4 separate regions of the Homo sapiens genome follow, and all the other regions are linked to region 4. Evidence: promoter capture Hi-C in 16 types of primary human blood cells and fetal thymus (Javierre and others, 2016). All regions are on one chromosome and are shown on one strand. The core of a region is centred on a gene start or on the middle of the fragment in contact, and the rest is flanking DNA. Distances in the headings are between cores, read along the strand shown.

Region 1 (4,799 bases), core at 175-2,674, 130 kb after region 4:
CTTTTGCTCCGCATCCTCACCAGTGTTAGGTGTTGTCGATGCTTTGGATTTGGGCCATTCTAGTAGGTGTGTAGTAGTATTTCACTGTTGTTTTATTAATAATTTGCAATTCCCAAATGACCTATGATACGGAACATGTTTTTCATATGTTTATTTTTCCATTTGTATGTCATCTTTGGTGAAGTATCTGTTCAGATCATTTGCCCATTAAAAATTAGGTTGTTTTGGCCAGGTGCGGTGGCTCACGCGTGTAATCCTAGCACCTTGGCTGAGGCAGGGGGATCATTTGAGGTCAGGAGTTCGAGACCAGCCTGGCCAACATGGTGAAACACCATCTCTACTAATGATACAAAAATTGGCTGGGCCTGATGGCAGGCACCCCAATCCCCGCTACTCAGGAAGCTGAGTCACGAGAATCGCTCGAACCCAGGAGGCAGAGGTTGCAGTGAGCTGAGCTTGTGCCACGGCACTCCAGACTGGGCGACAGAGTGAAACTGTGTCTCAAAAACACAGAAACAGCCACACGCGGTGGCTCACGCCTGTAATCCCAGCACTTTGGGAGGCCGAGGTGGGCGGATCACAATGTAAGGAGTTCGAGACCAGCCTGGCCAATATGGTGAAACCCCATCTCTACTAAAAATATACAAAAATTAGCTGAGTGTGGGGGCAGGCACCTGTAGTCCCAGCTACTCGGGAGGCTGAGGCGGGAGAATCGCTTGAACCCAGGAGGCAGAGGTCACAGTGAGCTGAGATTGCGCCACTGCATTCCAGCCTGGGTGACAGAGACTGTCTAGAAAAAAAAAAAAAAAAAAACCACACACAGAAACAAAAACATTAGCTTGTTTTATGATTATTGAGGTTTTTTTTTTTTTTTTTTTTTTGAGGGGGAGTCTGGCTCTGTCGCCCAGGGTGGAGTGTAGTGGCTCAATCTCAGCTCACCGCAAGCTCCGCCTCCCAGGTTCACGCCATTCTCCCACCTCAGCCTCCCAAGTAGCTGGGACTATAGGCGCCCACCACCACACCCGGCTAATGCTGTTTTTGTATTTTTAGTAGAGACGGGGTTTCACCATGTTAGCCAGGATGATCTTGATCTCCTGACCTCATGATCTGCCAGCCTTGGCCTCCCAAAGTGCTGGGATTACAGGTGTGAGCCACTGCGCCCGGCCTGGGTGACAGAGCGAGACTCCATCTCAAAAAAGAAAAAAGAGTTATTTGTGTATTTAGGATACAAGTCCTTTATGTATTTATTTATTTAGTGACGGTCTCACTCTTGTGCCCAGGCTGGAGTGCAGTGGCACAGTCATAGCTCACTGCAGCCTCGACCTTCTGGGCTCAAGCAATCCTCCTACCTCAGCCTCCCAAGAAGCTGGGACTACAGGCCTGCACTACTACACCTGGCTACTTTTTGTGTTTTTTGTAGAGATGGGGTCTCCCTATGTTGTTCAGACTGTTCTCGAACTCTTGGGCTCAAGTGATCCACCCATCTTAGCCTCCCAAAATGCTGGGATTACAGACATCCCGAAGTGCTGGGATTATAGGTGTGAACCACCACACCTGGCCAAGTCCTTTATCAAATATGTACTTTGCAGATATTTTCTCCCAGTCTGTGGCTTGTCTTTTCATTCTCTTAATAACTGTTATATATTGTTCTGTTCTAGTTCATTAAAAAACAAAACTGGTCCTGAGGCACTAATTGATTTTAGAGCCCACTAAGAGGTCATAGTCTGTGGTTTAAAATTCAGTGTTTGTTCTGCTTCCATAATATTCACGTGATCAACATTAGTAAAGCAACCATTATTTCAAGCAGTAATTTTCTTTGTCTTTTTTTTTTTTTTTTTTTTTTTTTGAGGAGGAGTCTCACGCTGTCCTCTAGGCTGGAGTGCAGTGTGGCATAATCTCAGCTTACTGCAACCTCTGCCTCCCGGGTTTAAGCAATTCTCCTGCTTCAGCCTCCTGAGTTAGGTGGAATTACAGGCACGCACTGCCATGCCCGGCTAATTTTTTTTTTTTTTTTAGTAGAGACGGGGCTTCACCATGTTGCCCAGGCTGGTCTTGAACTCCTGACCTCAAGTGATCCACCGGGCTCAGCTTCCCAAAGTGCTGGGATTACAAGCACGAGCCACCACACCTAGCCTCAAGCAGTCACTTTCAATTTTTTTTTTTCTTTTTTGAGATGGAGTCTCGCTCTGTCATCCAGGCTGGAGTGCAGTGGTGCGATCTCGGCTCACTGCAAGCGCCACCTCCCGGGTCACGCCATACTCCTGCCTCAGCCTCCCGAGTAGCTGGGACTACAGGCGCCCACCACCACGCCCAGCTAATGTTTTGTATTTTTAGTAGAGACGAGTTTCACTGTGTTAGCCAGGATGGTCTTAATCTCCTGACCTCATGATCCGCCTGCCTTGGCCTCCCAAAGTGCTGGGATTACAGGCATGAGCCACCACGCCCAGCCAAAGTAATTTTCAATATTGATGAACAGTGGTGTCAGAATTGATACTGTTCTTTATTCTAGAGTATTATTTTCTAATTTTAATTTTTTATTATTTTTGAGAGGAAGTCTCACTCTGTCACTTGGCTCACTGCAACCTCTGCCTCCTGGGTTCAAACGATTCTCCTGTCTCAGCCTCCTGAGTAGCCGGGATTATAGGCATGTGCCACCACGTCGGGCTAATTTTTGTATTTTTGGTAGAGATGGGGTTTCACCATGTTGGCCAGGCTGGTTTCGAACTTCAGACCTCATGATCCACCTGCCTCAGCCTCCGAAAGTGCTGGGATTAAAGGCATGAGCCTCCACGCCTGGCCTTTTTAAAATTTTGAGACAGCTGGGCGCGGTGGCTCACACTTGTAATTCCAGCACTTTGGGAGGCCAAGGCGGGCAGATCACAAGGTCAAGAGATCAAGACCATCTGGCCAACATGGTGAAACCCCGTCTCTACTAAAAATACAAAAATTAGCCAGGCATGGTGGCGCATGCCTCTAGTCCCAGCTACTAGGGAGGCTGAGGCAGGAGAATCACTTGAACCCGGGAGGCAGAGGTTGCAGTGAGCCGAGATCGTGCCACTGCACTCCAGCCTGGGCGACAGAGCGAGACTCTGTCTCAAAAATAATAATAATAATTTTGAGACAAGAGTTTCACTTTGTCACCCAGGCTGGAGTGCAGTGGTTTGATCATAGCTCACTGCAGCCTTGACCTCCTGGGCTCAAGTGATCCTCCCTGCCTCAGCCCCCCACGTGTCTGGGACTACTGGCATATACTACCATGCCTGGCTAATTTTTTGTGCTTTTTGTAGAGATAGGGTTTCGCCATGTTGCCCAGGCTGATCTCGAGCTCCTGAGCTCGAGCAGCCTGCCCACCTCAACCTCCCAAAGTGCTGGCATACAGGTGTGAGCCGCCACACCCAACCTATTCTAGAGTATTCTTTAAGTTTTAGTGGATAGAATAAATGTGGTCAGCTGTATCACCTCTATATCCTGTAGTCATGACACATCTTGGTATTATGGAAAGCTGTATGAATTTCACATTTCTACAAGGTTTAAGATAGGTTCTCTCAAAATGCGTTATGCTTTTAAATACTGAAGGGACTATATACTAAGTAAATAATGCAAATAGAAGCTAAGGTGTCTATTTTGTATTCCCAGGAATACTGTATAATGTAATTTAAAATGTGAAATTATTAACGCAAGTAAAACAGTGATTAGAACTCAACAGAATTGATAAGGTTATTGAGATCTATTGTAGTGGCTATTTAACTTTGAGTAGATGCTACTCAGATATTTAAATATGTCTAGGCTGAGCATGGTGGCTCATGCCTGTAATCCCAGCACTTTGGGAGGCCAAGGCGGGAGGATAATTGAGCCCAGGAGTTAGAGACCAGCCTGGGCATAGACCCCATCTCTACAAAAAATAAAAAAAATTAGCTGTGGTGCGCTTTTACAGTCTCAGCTACTTGAAAGTTGAGGCGAGGGAGGATCACTTGAGCCTAGGAGTTCGAGGGTGCAGTGAGCTAGGATTGGTGCTGCTGCGCTCAGCCTGGGCAGCAGAGCAAGATCCTGTCTCTAAAAAAAAGAAACATTAAAAAAAATGGGTGTATAGCTGTCTCTGCCTTCGTAAGAGGGTTAAATATGTACTTCTACAGTCTTATTTATTTAGAAAAAAATTTTCATTGCTCTAAGGTTAATTTTATTCCTTTTCCAAAATAATACAAGCCCTAATTATGGAAATTGAACTTAATATGATCTTACTAAACTGTACCTTTATTTTCCTTGGAGTTAATTCTTCATCCCTAAAATTTGTGTCAGGGGAAGGGGGTAGTGCTGAACTCACCCCCGTTACCCTGCAGTGCCACCTTGTGGAAAGAAGCTTTAGCTCAAGCTTGTCCAACCCATGGCACCGGGCCACAGGAGGCCCAGGACAGCTTTGAATGCAGCCCAACACAAATTAGTAAACTTTCTTAAAACATCATGATATATATATGTTTTTTAATGATCTTTTTTTCTAACTCATTGGCTATCATTAGTGTTAGTGTATTTTATGTGTAGCCCAAGACAATTCTCCAGTGTGGCCCAGGGAAGCCCAAAGTTGGGACACCCCTGCTTTAGAGCAAGGGACATCCATTGTTTCTCTAGGTTTGAGTGAAATCTGCCGAATACCACATAGTTATGTTCAAGGCTCCTGACTTTCACACTAATTTTTTTTTTTTTTTTGAGATAGAGTCACTGTCGCCCGGGCTGGCGTGCAGTGGCGTGATCTTGGCTCACTGCAACCTCTGCCTCCTGGGTTCAAGGGATTCCACTGTCTCAGC
Region 2 (5,373 bases), core at 2,176-4,675, 170 kb after region 4:
AGGCTGAGGCAGGAGAATCGCTTGAACCCAGGAGGCAGAGGTTGGAGTGAGCCAAGATCGCACCATTGCACTCCAGCCTGGGCAACGAGCGAAATTCCATCTCAAAAAAAAAAAAGTCAGATGTGGTAGCATCTGCCTGTAGTCCCAGCTACTCAGGAGGCTGAGGCGGGATGATGACTTGAGCCCAGGAGTTTGAGGCTGCCATGAGTCATGATTATACCACTGCACTTCAGCCTTGTCAACAGAGTAAGACCCTGTTTTTTTTTTTTTTTTAATTGCTTTTTACCGGTAGTAATGAGTTTGGGTGATAACTTATTTTTAAATAATTATTTTGGGGGTAGATATTGTCATTTCTATTGAATATTTCAAAATATTATATGAAATTATAAAGCAGCAGTCACTGAGTGGTGTTACCTATTCACATAATGGTCCATGAATCAGATCATGTCTCCTTTGGAGCAGCCCTCCACCTGCCCTTCACATGCTGCTGCCATGTCCTCTCCTGGAGCAGGCAGTGGGTGCCTCTGTGCACGTAAACACAGCATCTCTGTGGCGGCAGATGGGCTATGGGCTTAGCTTGTAGACTAAGAGTTGAGTAGGCTGACTTGCTTTGCATCTTCAGTGTTGGTTCTGGATCCTCTGTCAGGTTTTGACAGACACAATGGATGGTGGGCTGCAGTGTCTTCCTCCATCATTGTGGTATAGACTTGGAGAATAGATGGAATGCTTATCATAGGTGAGGGGAGCTGTGGAGGAGCTCTTTGTAAGAAATGTTGGTGTTGGCTGGGCGTGGTGGCTCACACCTGTAATCCTGGCACTTTGGGAGGCCAAGGTCGGTGGATCACCTGAGGTCAGGAGTTCGAGACCAGTCTGACCAATATGGTGAAACCCTATCTCTACTAAAAATACAAAAATTAGCTGGTCGTGGTGGCATGCGCCTGTAGTCCCAGCTACTCAGGAGGCTGAGACAGGAGAATCACATGAACCCAGGAGGCAGAGGTTGCAATGAGCCGAGATCGTGCCACTGCACTCCAGCCTGGGCAAGAGAGTGAGACTCCATCTCAAAAAAAGCCGAAATGTTGGTGTATGTTGAAAGAATGAACCAAATAGGGACATTTTTAATGTGGTCTTTTCTGAAAATTTGAAGATAACTGTAACAAGTAATTTTAAGACTAGAGATTGAGTTTCTTTTTTTTTTTTTTGAGGCAGAGTCTCACTCTGTCGCCCAGGCTGGAGTGCAGTGGCCTGATCTGGGCTCACTGCAAGCTCCGCCTCCCGGATTCAAGCCATTCTCCTGCCTCAGCCTCCCCAGCAGCTGGGACTACAGGCGCACACCGCCACGCCCGGCTAATTTTTTGTATTTTTAATAGAGATGGGGTTTCACCGTGTTAGCCAAGATGGTCTCAATCTCCTGACCTTGTGATCCGCCCACCTTGGCCTCCCAAAGTTCTGGGATTACAGGCGTGAGCCATCGCGCCCAGCCTGATTGAGTTTCTTTTTCTGGCTGTAACACTAACTAGGCATCTAAGCTTAGGCAAGTTCCTTCCTCACACAGGGCTGGGCATGGTGAGATACTGGTAAAGTGCATGGAATCTAGAGTGTGACTGGCCCATGTTTAGCCCACTGGCCTCGGAGCTTTCTAATGAGCTGAATTTGAGCAAGTTATTTCACCTCTCTACTTCCCAACTTATTATTGAATTGCTAGTTCTTTTATTGGCTATATTTGTGACCCTACCTCATATACTTAAATCTCTGTTTATTTGTACTATCAACTTTAAACAGTATCTCTGGACCTTGCTCTTTGTAAAATGATAATATTAGGCCCCTGCCATCTTTCCTTCCTTCCTTCCTTCCTTCCTTCCTTCCTTCCTTCCTTCCTTCCTTCCTCCCTCCCTCCCTCCCTCCTTCCCTTCCTCCCTTCCTTCCTTCCTTCCAGCTCTTGCAGCTGTACCAGACTTTCATGTTGTAAAGGTTGACAATATTTGTATATTGTTATCTAACTATAAACCTTTTTTGCTTTGTCTGTAGATTGGTTATAAAGTTGAAAACCATTTAGCAGTTTCATTATTTTAGATTTTGCAGGTATTATCCACTGCAGAGCCATGTGGTATACTAGATTATATTTTCTTCTCTTTGGTTTCAATATCATAATCCTTCTGCCACTCAGGGAGAAATATTCCTGTTGTTAAGATTATAGATTCTCCCTCTTCACATTCCTGCCTTCTGTCATTGGAGTAGAGATTTGTCCACTGCAAATCAAGAGCCTCTACAGAGTTCTTCCAGGCGGATCTGCTTCAGGACGTCTTAAGAAATAGACGCACACACACCACTGGTAGAAATTTTCATTCAGTAAATCTGGAGTGGGGCCTAGAAAACTCCCCATGTGACTATGTTGCCATGCCAAGCTTGGGAACATCCAGGTTACACTTTAGCAAGCATTTATAGCTTGTTTGTCCAACAGAATGTTGAAGATCTTTTTGAGTTCTAAGATTTACCATGGGACGGGCGCGGTGGCTAGCTCCTGTAATCCCAGCACTTTGGGAGGCCAAGGTAGGCGGATCACCTGAGGTCAGGAGTTCTAGACCAATCTGGCCAACATGGTGAAACCCTCTCTCTACTAAAGATACAAAAATTAGCTGGGCATGATGGCAGGTGCCTGTAATCCCAGCTGTTCTGGAGGCTGAGGCAGGAGAATCGCCTGAACCCAGGAGACAGAGGTTGCAGTGAGCTGAGATTGCACCACTGCGCTCCAGCCTGGGTGACAGAGCGAGACTCTGTCTCCAAAAAAAAAAAAATAATAATAATAATAAGTGAAAGAAAGAAAGGAAGAAAGAATTACCATGACCTGAACTTCAGGGAAGATTAAATAGATACATTGAGTAGGCCGTGTGTTGAAGAAGTGAGGTGTGTTGTATATGATATAATATATGGAAGAGACTCAAAAGGAAAGCATTCCAAATGTATGATAAATTGGGTAGACCAGTTTTGATGTGATGAGACCTTTTCCTTGATGAAGTTTTTTCTTGTTAATAAGGAGATAATGTGTATATTTCAAGATCAACAAAATTGAAACCTGAAACCAAAGTGAAAAATGTGTTTTTATCCTTTATGTGGCTTGTAATTAGAGGAAGGTATGAGAGCTCCTCTAGAGGAATAATTTAGGATTGGAAGCATCACATCAAAGATGTTACTGTATTTTATGGCTTACACATCTACCTTTTAAGCTTAATAATACGTTACCTTCTAAAACACTTTATTGTCTACAGAGCGGTTTTACGTGCATTTTAAGATATGAAAAACATCTTCCCCCAAAATGTTTCTGTGTATACCTTGGTTATAGAATAATGACATGCTAATAAGCCTTCTAACTTCTGGGCTGAGACATCTAAGGATAGATTAAGGAGAGCTGTGAAGAAAGGGGGGAGTGTGGGTTGGAAGAGAAGGGCAGGATGCTGAGTTGGTGTGATTGATGTCCATCAGCAGCTGCTGAACTAAGAAGCCGGGGAAGTTCTGCTCTCTGAAAATTGTAGGCCAGCAAGTCAGGTTAATACTACTGTGCTGGTTTGTCATTATGCTATAAAGGCAAATTGATTTGTTCTCATTATATATGCCTGTGTTGAAGCTTCCAAGATGTCCCCAGGTTCCGTGGTTTGCTAGGACCACTCAGGACTAAGCATAGAGTTCTCTTGAGTTGCTACAGTGAAAGGATTCAGAGCCAGATCAGCAAAGAGGAAAGACACATTCGACTTAGGTGTCCTGGAAGAACTTTTTCCTGTCTTCTCAGCCAAGCAGTTTTAAAATCTGAGTCAGTTTTTGCTTTATTCTAGGATATCCAGTAAGTTGCCAAGACCAATTGATCCTACCCTCCTGTGTTTTCTTCTAAGAGCTTTATAGTTTTAGCTCTTACATGTAGTTCTATGATCAATTTTAAGTTAATTTTTGTGTATAGTGTGAGTTAAAGGATTCAAATTAATTCTTTTCCATGTAAATATCCAGTTATCCCAGCACCATTTGGTGAAAAGACTATTCTCTCTCCCACTGAATTGCCTGACACCTTTGTCAGATCAATTGACCATAAATGTGATGTTTATTTCCAGAAGCATTCATTGCTAATGTAATCACCCAGGCACCGTTTTCCATATGGTGCCCAAGACTCAACTGTGCCTATCATCTCCTAGGCCAGATAACATTTCAACTGTCTAGAGAAAAACTTTTAGACTTATGCCAGGAGAGGATAGAGGCAGTCACCTAGGAGCATGGAGTTGGGGAGTAGATAGGGATTTAACTGCCTCTTAAATATTGTTCACTCAGTCTGCCTTATTTTCAGTCCCTACATTTTATTCCCCTTTCCAGAGGTACATGGTGTTGTCAGTTCCTGAAACTTTGAAGATTCTGTGCTGTAACTGGAGTGTTTATCCAGTTTTACTCCTTCTGGCTTGAGGTTTGTCTCAGATGTACTAGGTCAGTTATTTCTCGTCTGTTCTTTTGCCAACTTCCAAACATCTGTGTTGTGTGCACTGCTGTTAGTCCCGCTTTTGTGGTTTTATATTATTTGATGTAAAAATCCCTTTACTGTCAATTAGTGGAGTTTTGGGATTTAATGAAATTGGGATTAATCCTCCCTTGTGAGCAGAGCCAGGTGTGAATTTCTTTTAATTTCCCTATTGGGCTTTGTTGAATTTACTGATTCTGAGGATTGGCATCTGTCAACAGCTCTGGAACATTCTCTGTTATCTCGAGAAGTATTTTATCTTCTGCATTCTTTCTGTTTTCTTCTTTTGGAACTCTTATTAGACCTTCATCTTTCATTTTATTCTCCTTGTCTCTTAATTTCTTTTTTATATATTCTCTTTTTTGGTCTCTTTGTACTATATTCTGGATACTGTCCTAAGATTCATCTTTCAGTTAGTGAATTTTGTCTTCAGCTGTGTCTGTCTATTTAATACATAAAAGGTGCTTTTATTATTATTATTTTGAAAGGTATGACATAGTCTAGGAAAAATACTAGCAAATCATGTACCTGATAAAGGATTCAGATGCAGAATATATAAAGAACTCCCAAAGCTTAATAATAAGAAAACAAACAACCCAATTCAAAAAAGAAATAGGCCGAGCTCAATGGCTCATGCCTGTAATCCCAGCACTTTGGGAGGCTGAGGCGGGTGGATCACTTGAAGTCAGGAGTTCGAGACCAGCCTGGCCAACATGGCGAAACCCTGTCTCTACTAAAAATACAAAAATTAGCCCAGCATGGTTGTGCACGCCTGTAATCCCAACTACTTGGGAGGCAGGAGAATCACTTGAACTTGGGAGGTGGAGGTTGCAGTGAGCTGAGATCGCGCCACTGCACTCTAGCCTGGGCAACAGAGTAAG
Region 3 (4,687 bases), core at 1,828-4,327, 150 kb after region 4:
AGGAACTTCTGCTAGTGTACGATATATGGTATGAAACCATTTTTTCCACATGGATATATTTTGCTCAAACATCACTCATTGTATAGTCGTTTTCCCTCCTTGATTTTTGAGATACCTCCCTCATCATTTGCCATTTTTTTCATAGGTAATTGGGTCTATTTCTGGGGTATGACTTTGCCCCATTGATCTATATATATATCTACTGCTGTCATGTTGTTTTGAGCACTTTATAAGATAGTGCTCTTTCTTTTCTATTACTCTCCTCATTTGGAATTTTCCTGACTTGTCTTTTTCATCTTTCTACATGAACTTTAGAATCAGCTTATCTATTATTATTTCCAGAAAATAATTCTGTAGGCATTTTGGGGGCGGGGGGTGGGTAGAGGGATCACTTTAAATTTACAGATTAATCTGTTTGTGATAAGGAATCTAAATTACAGCTTTACTCTTTTGTCTTACAGATGATATTAACTGTTTTCTTGAGCAACAATGAACAGATTTTAACAGAAGTTCCTATAACACCGGAAACAACCTGTCGAGATGTTGTAGAATTTTGCAAGGAACCTGGAGAAGGCAGCTGCCATTTAGCTGAAGTGTGGAGGGGAAATGGTATGTATTAGGTCCTGTAAAGATTGTTACATTGATAAAATCAAATCACCATCTTTTAGCTAAGCTTGTGCTGGATTTGCTTTTTTTCTGATAAAGATGGGGAAAAAAAGTAACTAAGTACATATAATTTAGTATTTATCAAATGGAAAATATTGCTTGTAGTTCTTAGTTATCTGTGGTAATAAAGAACTGAGTAATTAAAATAAATGTAATTATATTGCACAGGACTGAGTTTTACAAAATGCTTTTTTGTATACTTTTTTTTTTTTTTTTGAGACAGTATCTCACTCTGTCTCCCAGGCCAGAGTGATAGATGTTTGGGCTGTCTCTCTTTTTTTTTTTTTTGGCTATTATGAATAATGCTCCTATGAACTTTCATGTACAAACTGTTTTTGTTTTTGTTTTTTGTTTTCTGACATGGAGTCTTGGTCTCTCCCACAGGCTGGAGTGCAGTGGCATGCTCTTGGTTCACTGCAACCTCCGCCTCCTGGGTTCAAACGATTCTTGTGCCTCCGCCTCCCAGTAGCTGGGGCTATAGGCGCGCACCACCACGCCTGGCTAATTTTTTGTATTTTTAGTAGAATCGGGGTTTCACCATGTTGCCCAGGCTGGTCTTGAACTCCTGAGCTCAGGCAATCCACCCACCATGGCCTCCCAAAGTGCTTGGATTACAGGCATGAGCCACCGCACCTGACAATGTACAAGTTTTTGTGTGGACATATATTTTCATATCTCTTAGTAGTATAAACCTAGGAATCTCTGGGTCATATGGTAATTCGTGTTTAACCTTTTCAAGAACCACCAGACTGTTTTCTAATGCAATTGCTTCATTTTACATTCCCTGCAGCAGTATACGAAGTATACGATGTGGAGAATTTCTGCACATTCTCATCAACACTTGATACTGTCTGCTTGAGTTTAGCCATCCTAGTAGTTGTGAAGATATGTCTTATTGTGATTGTGATTTGCATTTCCCTAATGACTAATGATGGTGAAAATCTTTTCATGTGTATATTGGCCATTTTTATATCTTCTCTGGAGAAATGTCTATTCAGTTCCTTTGCCTATTTATTTATTTATTTATTTTTGAGACAGTGTCTTTCTCTGTTGCCCAGGCTGGAGAACAGTGGCACAATCCTGGCTCACTGCAACCTCTATCTTCTGGGCTCAAGCAGTGCTCCCACCTCAGCCTCTCGTGTAGCTGGGACTACAGGCATGCACCACCATGCCCGGCTAATTTTTGTAGAAACAGGGTTTTGCCATGTTGCCCAGGGTGGTCTCAAACTCCTGGGCTCAAGTGATCCACCTGCCTGGGCCTCCCAAAGTGCTGGGATTACAGGTGTGAACCACTGCACCCCACCCCATTGCCCATTTTAAAAATGGGTTATTTGTCTTTTTGTTACTGAATTGTAAAAGTTCTTTATGTATTCTAGATACAAGTCCCTTGTGGGTATATAAATTACAATTTTTTTGCAAGGTCTTGTGCTTTTTACTTAGAATTCAGAGTAAAGAATTTTAAGGATACATGGAGAGAAACTTGACTTTGATAAACATTGGACTATTACTAAATTAGAAGTAAAAGGACAGGCCCTCAATTGTTAGCCTAATGACAGCTACAGGAAGCAGGCAGTTAAGTAATTGTAATTAACGTTTTTAAGGGGAGCAGTGTTAGAGCCTGATCATTCATTCCCTTGTTTTTTTTCTTCTCTAGCCTCTTAGCACTTTTGTTCTCTGTTACTTGTTATCAATTCTAATTCCTCATCTGCCTTCCCATTGTAAGGGAATAAAATTTTTACACGAGTATTATAGCCCTAAATGGTCTATGGCCTCTTGAGAATGCTTGTCTCTCTCATACGAGTCACTCGGTTGGTGCCATCCTTGTCTCCCAGCCCATCTCAAATCATAACTTAGTTTTACCTCCTCAAGGATGAGGACTACCACCCTGGAGCACAGAGTCACAGCACAGTACATTTACCGTGGCTTTTGTACATGCTCCTTCGTTGTCTAGAACAATCCCTAGGAGCTTGGCTAACATCTATTTATTCTTTGCCTCTCATCCCTTCCGTGAATCTCAAAGGGTGTTAGTGTCCCTGTGCTCTAATACTGTCGTTGTATTTATCAAAACATGATACAGGTCGGGCACGGTGGCTCTTGCCTCTAATCCCAGCCCTTTAGGAGGCCAAGGCGGGTGGATCACTTGAAGCCAGGAGTTGGAGACCAGCCTGGCCAGCACGTCAAAACCCCATCTCTACTAAAAATACAAAAATTAGCCAGGCATGGTGGCACACGCCTATAGTCCCAGCTTCTTGGGAGGCAGGAGAATCCCTTGAAACCCGGAGGCGGAGGTTGCAGTGAGCCAAGAGTGTGCCACTGCACTCCAGCCTGGGCGACAGAGCGAGACTGTCTCAAAAAAAAACAAACAAACATAATGTAGTAGTAGTTTTTATCTCTATCTTGTTGGACTAAAATTCCTGAAGGCGGGAACTTGTCTGTTGTTCACCATTATATCCCCAGTGTCCAGCCTAGTGTTCATAGAAGGCACTTAGTAAACACAGATTAGTAAGTAAAATGGCCAACGAAGCTGGATCTAGGAAGAAGAGAAGGTAACTTCCAGTGGATGCCATCAAAGGGAGAGGGCAAGCACTGTAACAGCCTTTCTCAGTCCTTTTACCTAGAGGAACCCTTACAGAGATTTTTTTTTTTTTAGGTTTCAGAGAACCCTCACATAAAACTTACTGCACCTGGCCGGGCACTGTGGCTCACTCTTGTAATCTCAACACTTTGGGAGGCCGAGGTGGGTGGATCACCTGAGGTCAGGAGTTTGAGACCAGCCTGGCCAACATGGTGAAACCCTGTCTCTACTAAAAAAACAAAAAATTAGCTGGGCATGGTGGTGGGCACCTGTAATCCCTGCTACTCGGGAGGCTGAGGCAGGAGAATCGCTTGAACCTGGGAGGCGGAGGTTGCAGTGAGCCGAGATTGTGCCACTGCACTCCAGCCTGGGCAACAAGAGTGAAACTTCATCTCAAAAAAAAAAAAAAACAAAAAACAAATTACTGCCCCCATAACTGCTGACATTAGTATGATCAGTATGTCGTAGATAGAATCCTTCAATAGTAATTATCAGTGCTTTCCAGTAGAGCCGTTTCACTGTGGATCTGTGCATTATTTTGCTGAGGCTGCCGTAACAAAGTGCCACAGACTGGGTGGCTTAAACAACAGTAATTTATTTTCTCACAGTGATGGAGGCCAGAAGTCTGAGATGAAGGTGTCAGCAGGCTTGGTTTATTCTGAAGACTCTCTCTCTCTTTGACTTGTAGATGGTTTTCTTTTCTTCCCTCCATGCCTGTCTGTGGACAAACCTCCCCCTCTTGTAAGGACACTAGTCATATTGGATTAGGGGCCACTTTGATCTCTTCATTTTATCTTCTTGCCTCTTTAAAAGTCCTGTCTCCAAATACAGTTAAATTTCGAGGTACTTGAGGTCAGGACTACAACAGATGAATTTAGCGGGGACACAGTTCAGCCTGTAACAGTCTGTTAATTTGGCCAGGTCATTAGCTACTCTGTGTGGTTCCCTTCCCCACACAGGTGTCAGTTCTAATGGCAGTCAGTAAGGTAGATAAAACCTTCCATTTTTATCTTTTGTTAAGTTTCCTACTTGAGGTTTTTTAACCTTATTTAAAGTTCCTAAAAGTCTTATAATAGATTTCCATTATACAAGATGCTAATTAGGTATATTTTATATTACATGATATGTATAGGGTAGTTAGTCCATTTTCATACTGCTATAAAGAACTGCCAGAGATGGAATGATTTATAAAGGAAAAAGGTTTAATTTACTCACAGTTCTGCAAGGCTGGGGAGGCCTCAGGAAACTTACAATCATGACAGAAGGTGAAGGGAAAGCAAGGCAGCTCCTCCACAAGGTGGCAGGAAGGAGAAATGTCAAGTGAAGGGGGAAGAGCCCCTTCTAAAACCATCAGTTTTCATGAGAACTCACTCACTATCATGAGAAACCACCTCCATGATTCAGTGACCTCCATCTGGTCTCTCCCTTGACATGTGGGGATTATGG
Region 4 (4,969 bases), core at 554-3,053:
GTTGAACCAAAGCTGAAGGATCAGAAGTAAGCATGGCAAGCGTCAGGGGGCAACGTGGCCTGGCTGAAACAAAAGGTGTGCTCTAGGGTCGAGCAAGAAAGCAAGCCAGGTAAGGAGGGATAACGTAAGACTGTAGAGGGCCTTGAAGGAGGGATAATGTGAGACTGCAGAGGGCCTTGAACAGAAATTTGGCTTAAGTTCCATATCCAATATGTTCTGATATTTTTGTTACCATTTCAGAGGAAAAAAATTTATGCAGTAACAAGGAGGTTATTCAAAGGAGTATGCGGCAAGATTCGCTGTAATTTTAGTATAAAATTTGGTAGGACACTTCTGTCATCATAAACTTTACTCCTTTCCTTCTCCTAACAGTATATGCAATGTCATGTGAAAACCTTCCAGTTGACAATAATCAGTCCTGACATCTGGCTTTTTCTAACATCTAAGCAACAGGAGCTGTAGGGTGGCCACACACGTCACTCTGGGTCATGCATGACATGCAAGTCTGATGTAAACAACGTCTACTCTTCATGGCTCACTTGAAAGGAAAAGCAACAGAAGAAACAAATACTATAAAAGGGAAAACCACTATGCAGTCGTTTCACAGAGAACTGGGGAGTAAAAGACCTTTTATACTATCTACTCTTTAGCAAAAGACAAACACTTGCATAGGAAATTAGCACAGGCCAGCGCAGTGGCTCATGCCTGTAATCCCAGCACTTTGGGAGGCTGAGGCAGGTGGATTACTTGAGCCCAGTTTACGGACCAGCCTGGGCAACACAGGGAGACCTTATTTCTACAAAAAAAAAAAAAAAAGAAATGTATGTGTGTGTGTATATATGTGTGTATTATATATGTGTGTATATTTATATATACATATATAATACATATACATATGCGTATATATACTTATGTGTATATATACATATATGTACATATATAAAATACATACACATATGTACATATATAAAACATATATGTATGTACATATGTGCGTGTGTATATATTTTTTTAAACTAGCCAGGCATGCCGTAGCATGCACCTGTGGTGGCATGCACCTATGGTCCTGGCTATTCAGGGGGCTGAGGTGGGAGGATCACTTGAGCCCAGGAGGTCGAGGCTACAGTGAGCCGTGATCATGCCACTGCACTACAGCCTGGGTGACACAACGTGACTCTGTCTCAAAAAAAAGAAAGAAAGAAAAAAGAAATAGCACAATAATGACCATTACAAACCAATATGCACCTAAATAGTAAATATAAGTTTTTCATCCTCAGCTCCAAAAAAAAAACACGAAAATGATTTTTCTACGATGAATTATAAGATTTTGTTTAGAATTTTGTATGTTCTTATGCCTCTATTTTTCCCTGACAACCAATTACTGCCTTATTACCATATTTTCAGAGATTATAAAGTATATTTTAAAGTTATCTAGCTGTTTATTATGTCCCCTAGCATTTCAACTTGCTTAAATATACAAATTTAACTATTTTGAAAAAACCAAAATGAATACAAAATGTAACATTTGCTAAATATTTCACAATTATAATTCACATCAGCATTCTTTACCTATTTCACTCAATTACAATGAGTTTTCTCAGAATGTATGTTTTGCAAATAGTCAAGTCTAATCTATTTTTCCTGTTTTCACTAGAGGGGACAGTGACCCGGCTTCCAAATGGCCTGAAAGTTAAGCTGAAGAATAAAAGCAACGTGGCTATTTTTAGAGCTCTACAGGCATAAAAATACAGCACTAAACTGTGACCTACAGCTATGCACAGCAAAGCATCACATCACGCGACAGTCTTCACTCTAGCTCGGAGCGCATCTATGGTGCTTTAGACGACCATTCTTCGTTTCACTACCAAAGACATGTCGGAATGCATTTAGGACCAGCATCTATAGCTGCTGGCATTTTTTTCAAATAGACTGAGCTACATTGAAAAGGCAGACCATTATATAACTTGTGAAGATTAAATAGTCAGTTATTTTTGTCATTTCTTCTAGCTTACTTACAAGGTGAATTAATGAGCATTCTCTCCAAATGAAGACATCACAGCCTCATTCCTAACACAGAAAGTTATTTATTTCAAATACAGTTTCGGTGGGTAAATAAGGTGGCGCATTCCTTCTACAGAGGACACACCTAGGAGAGCAAGATACGTCCCAGTGAAACACAGCTTCGTCACCAACTTCAGTCAACTCTTTGGCAACATCACATCAGCCCATCAACTTAACAGGTAAGCTTTAAACCTTTTCTGTCCAAAACATAAATCAAAAGTATCTGTAGGCAGCACTTGCCCCGACATTAATATTTTAAGTCTCTTAAGAACTTTTCACAGCAAGTGTTAGTGTTATTTTCGGATATCATTCAGTCTATATGTTATCTCTGACTTTGTATATCTAATTTCTGCTAAGCTACATAAAAGCATTTTCAAAGCTTGGTTTCTGCCACTGACCTAGTTAAAAATTAAGACGTTAATCCATGTTCTAATCTTATTTTGACCTGCATAGCTAAATGTGAAAAAAAATCGTGCACTTTTCGGGCAAATTTATTGTAAAGAAACAAATATTTGCTCAGAAGAACATAACATTTTGAGCAAATAAACAAGTGAAAATATTTCCATAGGCTAAAAATGCCACTTTTTGGCTGGATGAAATGGCCCAAAAACGATTCCTACAAACCCACACACTATCCTGGCTCAGACATAGTGACAAAGACTCTGCTTCGGGAATTAAAATGGCACCTAAAGGAGCGAGAGAGATTAATACAAGAAATCGAAAATGAACAAAAAGTGAAAAAAACAGGTGTGGATTACAACTGGCTCAGAAACTACCAGAATCCCCACACAACTATCCCAGTGACTGAACAAAGACAACTTGAAGTTCTTTGCTCACAAGTTCAACCTTGCCAAACTGGAACTATTCTCAGCAGGTAAAAATACTATGTTCTCTTATGATTCCTGCTACTGCTAAGTCCAAGTTCCTCATATATTTTGACTAGAAACTGTATTCTATCATGTAAATTCTTTAACTGTGTAGATGTCTGGTGAGCAATTGTTTTAAATTACATTTAAAATTTCTTTACTAGAAGCATAATTTTAAAACAACATGCAAAATACTCAAAAGGTGGGTAACTTGTATACATTATTCAAGCTGTATTTTGGAGATAAAGAGATATAACAAAAAATGTTCTAAACTGAATATTCATTACCATTTCCCCTCTAGATTTCGAGAAGTTTTGGCAGAAAATGATGTACTGCCATGGGAAATAGTCTACATCTTCAAGCAAGTTCTGAAAGACTTCCTAAGCAGCTCTGACAGAGGGAGTGAGCAAGAGGACCTGGAGGACTCAGGGAGCATGGACTGCTCTGCTCCTTCTGTGATCCAAGGTGACAGCTCCAAGAGGGCAGACAAAGATGAAATACCCACCATTTCCAGTTACGTAGACAAAAACACAAAGGACAGGTTCCCAGTGTTCTCACACAGAATATGGAACCTACCATATTATCACCCATCTAGTTAAGTTACTTACAACTAGAGGGGTTTTTATGAACACCTTAGAACTCCTAATATTAAGAATAAGAAAAAGTGATGTGACTTCAAGTTTTTCTTTGTTACAAGGTCAGTATCCTGTGGATGTAGCCTATGTTTTAAATAGTGTTCTTTTTTTAACCACTCTAAACATGCTATGTTTTCATTGAATAGTATGCTTTTAACTAAAATGTTTCCTAAGTATTTTGAAAAAATGTTTGCAGTATTTTCTTATACCTCAAACCCACCTCACAGGAACTAAAGCAACTTTAGTATGAAGTCTGACAAATTCTGTACAAAACTTAGATATTAACCTTGACTTTTATTCTACAATGAAGCTACATATAGAATTAAATAAATTATTAATACGAATCCTATCTTTACAACATAACAGAAATGAGAAGTCAACATCCCATTATACGATCATTCTCAGCAGGGGATGGGGAGAAGGGCGGTGAGGGAAAAAATATCATGCAGTTTAAAAATGAAGCAGGGCTTTAACCCAACGCTCAGCTTTGGTTTTAATCACAGTACTTTTAAGCTCAACATTAAGGGAACGTGTAATAAAACTCAGCTCTATCAGTAAAGATAAATAGACTGATTTAGCAACATGAGTAGCTGCTACTCTCAAAGAAAAACATTCACTGTTGGTGAATAATTTAAACTTATACTCTGGTGAAATAGCAAAATATTTAATATACAAAATCTGGCTTTTCATAACTTTATTAAAAGTAGGAAATTATACATTAGTCAGATTTTTTTTATAAAGTGATACAATTCATTCTTAAAGTTAAGTCCAAGGAACCTAATTATAACTTTATATTTGAAGATTTACTGGTTTTCTTTCATCTAAAAAGAAAAAAATATACGTATCAAAATTGGAACTAGCTGGGTGTGGTGGCACATACCTGTAGTCCCAGCTACTCAGGAGGTTGAAGCAGGAAGCTCACTGGAGCCCAGGAGTTAAAGGCTGCAGTGAGCTATGATCACACCACTGCACTCCAATCTGGGCAACAGAGAAAGACCTTGTCTCAAAAAAAAAAAAAAAAAAAAACACTTTTTTTCAAAAAGACTAGAACTAAATATACACCACAAAAAAAAAAAAAAAAAAAAAAAAAAACCCTCCTAACTTTATTCTCCCTGCGTTCTTGGCCAACTTGTGTACCATTTTCAACTGACCTCTATTTGGTCTTAAATCCCAATCACGTAATGCAACCCACCTGATCAGGGTTTAACAGGACAAACACAGTCCCAAGCAGATTTAAAATAAAGACACCTCTCATTCCTGCTCTGAGATTTTCAGTTTTCCTACATACTACCTTTGGCTTCTTCAGTCACTGTAAGATTTCCTAGAGTGGAAACTGTGTGTGGGAGAGATAAATGCCCCGAAAAGTACACAACTGCTTATTGTGCAGTGAATACAGTAAGTAGCAAA

The links. The method cuts DNA at HindIII sites, captures the fragments that hold promoters and counts their contacts. A CHiCAGO score of 5 or more calls a contact.
Region 1: a contact is called between a fragment that was not itself captured here and the fragment with the promoter of RD3L in region 4, in 4 of 17 cell types (M2 macrophages, M1 macrophages, M0 macrophages and 1 more). The highest score is 14.7, in M2 macrophages.
Region 2: a contact is called between a fragment that was not itself captured here and the fragment with the promoter of RD3L in region 4, in 1 of 17 cell types (M2 macrophages). The highest score is 5.2, in M2 macrophages.
Region 3: a fragment that was not itself captured here is called in contact with the fragment with the promoter of RD3L in region 4 in 1 of 17 cell types (M2 macrophages); the score reaches 5.3 in M2 macrophages.

The regions. Positions count from the first base shown.
Region 1 is chr14:103,808,142-103,812,940 of GRCh38, reverse strand. All of the region lies in intron 1 of PPP1R13B (protein phosphatase 1 regulatory subunit 13B), which reads left to right. Among named protein-coding and RNA genes, the nearest start is that of PPP1R13B, 37 kb to the left of the region's middle. The HindIII fragment of the contact is 5,870 bases long and covers 1-4,359 here.
Region 2 is chr14:103,772,701-103,778,073 of GRCh38, reverse strand. All of the region lies in intron 4 of PPP1R13B (protein phosphatase 1 regulatory subunit 13B), which reads left to right. Among named protein-coding and RNA genes, the nearest start is that of ZFYVE21, 60 kb to the right of the region's middle. The HindIII fragment of the contact is 398 bases long and covers 3,227-3,624 here.
Region 3 is chr14:103,793,293-103,797,979 of GRCh38, reverse strand. PPP1R13B (protein phosphatase 1 regulatory subunit 13B) reads left to right here. Exons shown (of 17, transcript NM_015316.3): 2 at 462-609. It overlaps LOC124900347 (small nucleolar RNA SNORD51), which reads left to right and starts at 632; the gene lies at 632-708. RefSeq lists enhancers at 2,331-2,830, 2,831-3,332. The HindIII fragment of the contact is 4,803 bases long and covers 676-4,687 here.
Region 4 is chr14:103,939,363-103,944,331 of GRCh38, reverse strand. It overlaps RD3L (RD3 like), which reads left to right and starts at 1,803. Exons shown (of 3, transcript NM_001257268.2): 1 at 1,803-2,240; 2 at 2,630-2,935; 3 at 3,229-3,906. The coding sequence starts at 2,637. The coding sequence ends at 3,526. The region is part of intron 1 of TDRD9 (tudor domain containing 9); the gene reads right to left. The HindIII fragment of the contact is 3,550 bases long and covers 1-2,247 here.